Linked DNA regions of Homo sapiens: all the other regions are linked to region 3. The links are contacts of gene promoters, found by promoter capture Hi-C in blood cells and fetal thymus (Javierre and others, 2016). All regions are on one chromosome and are shown on one strand. The core of a region is centred on a gene start or on the middle of the fragment in contact, and the rest is flanking DNA. Distances in the headings are between cores, read along the strand shown. Region 1 has its middle 7.0 kb from the start of IFNA1. Region 2 overlaps MIR31HG (MIR31 host gene). Region 3 holds the start of CDKN2B (cyclin dependent kinase inhibitor 2B).

Region 1 (2,700 bases), core at 118-2,617, 560 kb before region 3:
TTCTCTCCTTCTTCCCCAGCTTTTCTGGATCTCATTCTTCACTCCTATTGAAGCTCGGAAAATAATACGCCAAAGTGAAGATCTAAGAAGCAGCCTCAGAAGCAAAGTTTCTCTCTGGCCTTCTCCTGCCCTCCTGTTTGTCACCCCTCATCTCCCGAGGCTAGCCATAAAAAGTAGAAACTCTCTTTCCCAAGGCTGGTAATAGAAACCAGAGCCCTTTCTCTCCAAAGCCAGCCATAAAAACCTATAAACATTACTTGAACTTTCCCTTACCTTTGTGTGTAAGAACTGAACTGGCCATAAAGAAATTCTCTGACCTGCCTTGTTTGATTGTAGATACTAAGACCCCCATTCCAAAAAGAGCTCTGCCACATACCCAAGAGGAAGGAATGGTGCATGGAGAGGCCAAGAAGTATCTGACCAGAAAGGCCTTGCTGGGTTTCCCCTACTCAGAATATTAGCATTAGATGATGCCCTTTTTGTCTAATCACATTTCTGCACAGCTGCCCATTCCTCATGGAATGTAAGCATAAAAATGGATAGTTTTTTCCTGTACTTTGGGTCTTCATTTTGAAGGCTTCCATAGTTATATAAAACGATGATTAAATAAACGTGCTATGCTTCTCGCTTGTTAACCTGCCTTATTATAGCCGTGTCAGCTGTGACCCTTTTGATAGGAAGGAAAGAGATCACACTATTTCTGCCCTTATAGTTCTGATGATGAAGATGGGATGTCTGAAGCACCTGACTCACCTATTGATGAGGTCCTGGGACAACTGATAAAGAGCTGGCAAATAAAGGTAAGAATTTTTACCAAGGTGAGTTCTGAATCTCTGCCTGTAGTTTCTGGTCAAGAACTAAAGGTAAAAATTTATCTTTATATCTTACTTTCCAAATGCAGGTCAGCAGGAGATCATTTGTTTGAACTGTTCTCTTATGTAAATTTGGATTTCAGGGACTCATTTGTTATTGATCCTTTCCCTTCAACGAACAGCTGTCATTTTCCTGTTTTGTGTCCTGAGAACCCAACTTGGCTTGCTGCCTGTCAGGACACACTTTGGTGTGTGAAGGGGGCTAAACAAATGTTGGAGGCTCCCATTAAAAGCTTACATATTGCCTATTGCCAGCTCTCAAGGCATCTAAATCTTTCTTTCTTTTGGCTATTTGTGGGGGTAGCTCTGAATTTTGAGAGGGCTGCATCTTTACATTTCTTTAATGATGTCTCATGTATCCTTGGTTAAGTCACAAAAGACTTGGTTTTGGTTCTGAGTCGCTTGGTAGGTATCGTTGTTTTAAAAGAAGAGAAAAAAAAGAAAGTTTCAAACATTAGAAATATTGGTTGTTTTTTCTTGCTGAAATCTGATAAGGGATTTAAAAGTATTTTTTTAAAAGAGCTCTGTGGTCAAATAATAGCTTAATTTAAAGCTGATATCCAGGCTACCATTTTTTTAAGAGTCTTTCTGATTTTCTCCTTAGGTTCTTGTTTATCCCATGGGAATTTTTTTCAGTAAACTTAAACTTTTTTTATTATAAACTTGATTCCTCTGTTTGCTTCCTTTCTTGTAGGCAGGATTTTTACCGGTTAAAAAAAAAAAAAAAAAAAAGAGTAAAACTTCATTGGCCTTTTTGGGAAGCTTAAGACCTACCCAGTCTGGCTCCTCTAAGACTTTTTCTTCCATTTACTTCTGTCCCTCCTTCCTTCTGCCACCTTCAATCTTCCATCTAGGTCTCTCTTATCATCGACAAGCCCCTGCCTCTGCATTTAGTGGTCAGTGGTTGGAAAATTACTAAGCAGAAACATCAGAGTTCTGGCTACCACATAAAGGGATGTAGAGAAGACTTCTAGAAAGCCTGGGATTCCTTGAAGAATGAAAAAAAAAAAAGGTGCCACAGACCCCCCCACTACATGGAGTCCTCTGTCTTCCTCAGGAACCCCAAGAGTCATGGGTGGGTCCTTCTTGCATCTGGAGCTCTGCTCTCCCTTGCCTTGAGTTCCCTGATCTCTTTGGCTTTTGGGGTATCAAGGGTAACTTCACACTGTGAGAGAGCCACCTACCTGCCAAGACCAGAGACAGTGGGCAAGTCTGTTCTCTGTATAAGTCTGTCGCCTTCCACCAGCTTTTTCTTCAGAGCTAAAAGGAGGAAATTTCCTGGAAAGAACTGACCCAAACACTGGAATGAGCCCATTTCTTTAAATTTCATGTCTTAGAGAGGGGATATACTCCCAGCTTCAGGCAGGACATGTCCTCTTTGGACAATGGGCAGCTCTGGGGAGAGAAAGGGGCAGGAGGTGTCCCTTGCCTCCAGCCTATGCAGCCTCCCAGGACCTCCTGACTCGTCCCTCACTCTACTTACTGCAGGTCACGTGGAAGTGAGAGCCACCCCATCTGACTGTGGCACTTCAAGGGAAATCAGGAAAACTGTCCTGATTGAAGGTACATTAACTCTTTAGCGTAAGTTGTCAGTTTTACTAATTTACTCCTCCTATCAGATCATGCCCCTCGACTTTATAATTGAGAAAATTCTTACTTTCCCTTTGAATAAGGAATGAGCTTGCATCAGTTCCATCTGGATTCAATAGTTTTAGAGAGCACTAACATAAAGTAACTTCAGAGAATATAGTGACTGCCACAGGTGTCAACAGGGTAGAATTGAGAGGCATCTTGGCAATATTGCAATTAAAGAAGTAATCATGGTCAG
Region 2 (2,700 bases), core at 93-2,592, 540 kb before region 3:
AACGAGTTATAGATTTCATCTCTTGCCATAATCCCATATTTCTTGGAGGTTTTGTTTGTTCTTTTTTATTCATTTTTCTTTATTTTTGTCTGACTGAGTTATTTAGGAGAGGCAGTCTTTGAGCTCTGAGATTCTTTCCTCAGCTTGGAACTAGTGCAGTTGTTTGAAAGAAAAAAAGGAACTCTGGCTTTTTTGCTGGTTCTTTCTTGTGCTGGTTCTTTCTCATTTGTGTGGGCTGATGTTCCTTCAATCTTTGAAGTTTCTGTCCTTTTGATGGATATTTTCTTTTTTTCTTTGATGCCCTTGGGGGTTTGATTATGGTATAAGTTGGGTTTAGTTGACAGGCTTCAATATTAGTCTGCTCCTGGGTCTTGGAGGAGCCCCCCCGATTACTGCCTACATGCCTGTGCTTCTTTTTTTGGGTGTTTTGATCCGCAGGACTCCCTTAGGCAGGGCCACCATTGGCAGATATGCTGTATCCATGCCAGGTCAGCCCTAATCTGCTGTCTGTGTGCTTTCTGGGGAAACACAGGGTTACACCTGTCCACAGAGTTCAGGTGGAAGTGGGACCGCTGGGTTGGAAGTTCTAGCAGGTGTGGGCCATCTGGCTATGAGAGGTGGGGGTTGGTGGGGCTACCCTCCCTGTCATGCAGGTGTTTCCGGGGCAACAGGAACCTGTGCCGCTTTGCAAATTCAGGCAGAAATAGGACCACCAATCTAGAAGTTCTAGTGGACATGGCTTATCTGGGCTACCAGTGGCAAGGGTGGATGGGAATGCCTGCCCTGCTGTCTAGATGCTTCCTGGGAAAACAGGAGGCTGCACCCACTGTTTAAGTTCCCACAGAATTAGGAACACTGGGTCAGAAGCTCTGGCAGCTGTTGACAGCCTGAGTGCCAGTGGCCAGGGTGGGTGGGGTCACATGCTCTGTTCTCCTGGTGTTTTACTTGTTTTGCTTATAAAGGGAAATGTTCATTAAGATTCTACCTTTAGCTGGGTGTGGTGGCTCATGCCTGTAATCCCAGTACTTTGGGAGGCCAAGGCAGGAGGATCCCTTGAGCCTAGGAGTTTGAGATAAGCTTGGGCAACATGGCCAAATTCCTTCTCTACAAAAAATAGAAAAGGCATGGTGTACACCTGTAGTCCCAGCTACTTGAGAGGCTAAGATGGGAAGATCATCTGAGCCTGGGGAGGCTGAGGCTGCAGTGAGCTGTGATTGTGCCACTCCACTCCAGCCTGGGCAACACAGCAAGATCCTGTCTTAAAAAAAAAAAAAAGAAAAAAAAAGATTCTACCTTGAAGCTGTTTTCCTGGAATGCATCTAAATGGGAGAGTCCAGTTTGAACCAGTAGAGGGCAGAATAACATTTAGCATTCATCACTGGAATGTGTTTGCACATGAGGTGTATCAACAGTAAGGAAACAAAATAACTCTAGATATTCATGTGTCTTAGTAAGTACATTTGGTTAATTAACATAAGGCCATGTTATGTTCATCATTAATGAACCCAGCCAAGACTTTTTTTTTTAACCAACACTCAACTGCTTAAATGCCTTGCTCATCAAAGAGACACCAGAGAACAAAGCTAAGTTATAAAAAATAAGGATGGAAAAGCTTCCAAATATCCCTTAAAAAACAATTATATTGGAAGGTCTAATGGGGTCAGATTAGATAATAAATAACAATCTAGAACTAGTATTAGGCTAATATCACTGATTTTATGCTTACCTTTTAAAACTTTATTCTGTGTTATTTATTTATTCTAGATTCCCATAAATATATTTACCACTTAAACTGAAAGACCCATAGAAGACATTTTTAAAAATTATTTCCACACTAGTTTTTCCAATTGATAAGGTGATCAGTAACATAGATTTTTGATCCAACTACTGGGAACAATTTAAAACAATCTGTTCATCAATATTGAATAAGAAAAATAAACTATCATCTCAAATATTTTGATGAGATATTTGCAAAGAAATTATATTCAGTCATAATTTCTAAGACTTCAAATTAATGAGAAACAGATATGTGCAAATGAGATCAGGCATGTTTCTTTTTAAACAAGTGAAATTATAAACAAAAATATTCTTCTAAAAAATTAGGTAAAAGGCAGCAATGTCTACTTTCCCCTGAAATATTTAATATTGTGGTGAAATAATAACAATGTAAAACATTATGAAACAAGCAAGAGGAATTAAAGTTATAACATGAAGACAATTTGGTCATGTAGGGTAAAAATAAGGCTCCTTTTGTTCCCTCTTAATGAACATCACATCATAAATCTAGCCACTCTTGTATCCTCCTATTACCATAAATTGGTTTTTGAAGTTTCTGAACTTTCTATAAATGAAAACACATTTTAGTTTTTCTTTATATTTAGCTTTTTCACTCAATGTTATGTCTGTGAAATCATCCATACTGTTCATGTATGTTGAGTGTGTTGTTTTTTTCAAGTTTTATGAGCCATTTGGATAGTCTCTTTTGTGAAATTCCTGTTCCAATCTTTCTTTTTGGTAAGCACTTTCTCCTTTTCTTATTGATATTGATTTCTCTTTTTATTTTAGTTATTTTTATATATATCCTAGATACAACTACTTTGTTGGGTAAATGTATTGTAAATAACATCTTTCAGATTGAAGCTGATCTTTTTATTCACTTAAAGTTATTAATCTTAATGAAGACTAAGTTATCAAATTTTA
Region 3 (2,700 bases), core at 72-2,571:
GAATATGACCACTAGCCAACGGTAAAGTACAAAAGAGTTGTCCGAGATTGTAAAAGAAATAAAAAATATCAGTACTAATTAAAGCAGGATTCGTACTTAAACATTGAATAAGTGTATTTTAACAATGAAGATAAAGATGCATTATTTATGAAGATCCTTTGCCATTCAAAAAGGACCTAACAGTTGCTGCAGGAATATTTTTGTAATCTGGGCACTGAGTATGATAATTAAAGAATGAGAAACCTATAGAACTATATATTTTTTCTCTTATGCATCACTCATAAGACACTGCTAACATAAAAGGAACTAAGTACTGTGGTTGAGGAATCCCGTCTCATTCTCAATTAACCTCTATGAGAAAACAATACAACAGATTTCATATAGTAGCTTAGAAGTTTACATTGATTTTTTCCATGTACTATGATTTTGTAGAATTCCTTAAATCCAATCTAGAATGCGTAACTTATACTTTACTTATCTTTATCGTTGAAAGCAGACAGACAAGATAATCTTCTTCCCTAAATAAGCTTTCCTTTTCTCCTTTTCTCCCCAATTCAGTCTATTCCTTGCATCTCTGATCATGAGATGGCAGAACAAAAACCACTAAAAAAAGCTTAAACAGTGGGTTTTTCAATGTCTCTCTTTAGGATTTTTGCTGGGTAAAAGCCTGTTTTACGCGTGGAATGCACACCTCCGGCCAACGGAGACTCCTGTACAAATCTACATCGGCGATCTAGGTTCCAGCCCCGATCCGCCGAGGCCGCGCCCCGCGTTCGCGCGCCCCCTGCCGGCGAGGCCCTGGGGCCCCAGCTACCTGGATCGCGCGCCTCCCGAAACGGTTGACTCCGTTGGGATCCGCGCCGGCTTCCAGGAGCTGTCGCACCTTCTCCACTAGTCCCCGCGCCGCGGCGCTGGCCAGACCCTCATCGCTGCCGCCCCCACTGGGCATGCCCTTGTTCTCCTCGCGCATTCCGCAGCCCCCAGACGCGCAGCGGCCCGGATAATCCACCGTTGGCCGTAAACTTAACGACACTCTTCCCTTCTTTCCCACGCTGCTCCGGCGCACTCTCTCCTTCCTAGGAGACCTGGGCTCAGCTTCATTACCCTCCCGTCGTCCTTCTGCGGCTTGGGGCCCCGTGCAGTGGCCGAGCGGCCGGTCGTTAGCTCCGGGCTTTTCCTGGCGCTCAAGAACCAGCGGGCGCGCCTGGATTGCTTCTGGGAAAAAGCGCCTAGCGCGGACGCAGCCGAGCTCAAAGCCGCTCTGGCCGCAGGGTGCGGACGCGTCGCGGAGTCCTCACTGCCCCGCCTCGCTCTGGCAGAGTGGGGAGCCAGCCGGCAAAGAATTCCGTTTTCAGCTGGGCCAAGGGGCCGGCGTCTCCCCACCCCCTTAGGCTCCGCCCCCTGTCCGCTGTGATCGCCGGGAGGCCAGGCCCGGGCCGACGCGTCACGAGGGCGGGGAAGCCTGCCCAAAGATGCTAGGACGCATGCGCCAGAGACTGGGCCAGGGAGCCGCCAGGAATGCTGGCTGCACTGCTCGCTGGATGTCCAGTAAAGCCAAGGCTAATATTTTGGGAATGTTCACCACTGCCCTCAGCTCCTAATCCCCAGTAGGCGGAGCAGAGGATTTCTGTTCCTTCAGCCAGCCAGTTGGTTTCACTGTGGAGACGTTGGTGGCTCCCTTGTGACCGAGAGAAAGTCATTCAAAATAACTCCGTGTTTCTTAAGATGTCTGAAAGCGACAGCTCTGCACCTGTCATACAAGTTAAATTCATCCCCAGGCAGTACTTGGGCTTCACAAGTTTCATAACTTGTATCAAACTTAGCAATTTTCTCTTGGATGTGTCTTTCTGTTTGAATTAGTCAACCATAAAAATAGAGAAAAATCCCGAGAATCATGTTTTGCGTGTGCTTTTTAATTCTTTCCATTTTTGCATTATGGATACAACCCTTAAAAGAGAAAAAAACTAGTTCGAGATTGAGAGTGGCAACCTGGCACACATAAGACAAAAAAAAATTATACTTTAAGAATCTGAGATCCCAGTTTCATCATATTTGTACAGTAAATCTTTGTTTGCACTCTTACCTATTTAAACCCACTTTGTCAGGTATCTTATTTTTATTTATCATGAGTAATAAAGGAAATTTATGCAGTAATAATGAAACATCATAAGAGAGGGGTGTGGTGCTGGGCTTGTCATTAAACAGGCTGAACCTGTCATTAAATTCTCTTCTGAAGATTTAAATGCCAAGTGCTTTTTTTCCCCTTCCTAATCTTCCTAGGTGAGTTTGAATCAACATTTATTACTTAAAATATTTAAAACATTTCAGCGGATGCTACATTGGATAGGAAGAGAACCGCAAGTTATGGATTTGTTGCCTAAAAACTTTGGTGAGGAACTGCATAAGTGGACCTCTCCTAAAAGTGAACAATTTTTGTTTACAGAATCATTTTGGTTCGGAGTGCTGAGGAAGACAAAGTCTTAACAGGAGGGCAATTGCTTGTGTATTGCAAAATGAGAGTCTTCACATGTTTTTTTTAGGATACCTTAGCTCTGACTCCTCATCCCCCAAATCCCTGTAGAATTAAAAAAAGCTCTTTCTTTTAAAGGCAGTGGAAGTGCCACCACCATGGAAGTGCTGGTTAGGGCTGAAAATCTACTGACAGAGCCTCAACAGAGCTGAAATCCACCTGGACAGGGA

Evidence for each region. The method cuts DNA at HindIII sites, captures the fragments that hold promoters and counts their contacts. A CHiCAGO score of 5 or more calls a contact.
Region 1: a contact is called between a fragment that was not itself captured here and the fragment with the promoter of CDKN2B in region 3, in 2 of 17 cell types (naive CD4 T cells and activated CD4 T cells). The highest score is 7.1, in naive CD4 T cells.
Region 2: a contact is called between a fragment that was not itself captured here and the fragment with the promoter of CDKN2B in region 3, in 2 of 17 cell types (naive CD8 T cells and naive CD4 T cells). The highest score is 6.7, in naive CD8 T cells.

Annotation. Positions count from the first base shown.
Region 1 is chr9:21,446,084-21,448,783 of GRCh38, forward strand. No RefSeq gene overlaps it. Among named protein-coding and RNA genes, the nearest start is that of IFNA1, 7.0 kb to the left of the region's middle. The HindIII fragment of the contact is 529 bases long and covers 1,104-1,632 here.
Region 2 is chr9:21,464,766-21,467,465 of GRCh38, forward strand. The region is part of intron 2 of MIR31HG (MIR31 host gene); the gene reads right to left. Among named protein-coding and RNA genes, the nearest start is that of IFNE, 16 kb to the right of the region's middle. RefSeq lists a silencer at 1,348-1,427. The HindIII fragment of the contact is 535 bases long and covers 1,076-1,610 here.
Region 3 is chr9:22,007,984-22,010,683 of GRCh38, forward strand. It overlaps CDKN2B (cyclin dependent kinase inhibitor 2B), which reads right to left and starts at 1,322. Exons shown (of 2, transcript NM_004936.4): 1 at 815-1,322. The coding sequence starts at 970. All of the region lies in intron 1 of CDKN2B-AS1 (CDKN2B and CDKN2A antisense cis and trans regulatory RNA 1), which reads left to right. RefSeq lists a silencer at 664-863. The HindIII fragment of the contact is 2,577 bases long and covers 612-2,700 here.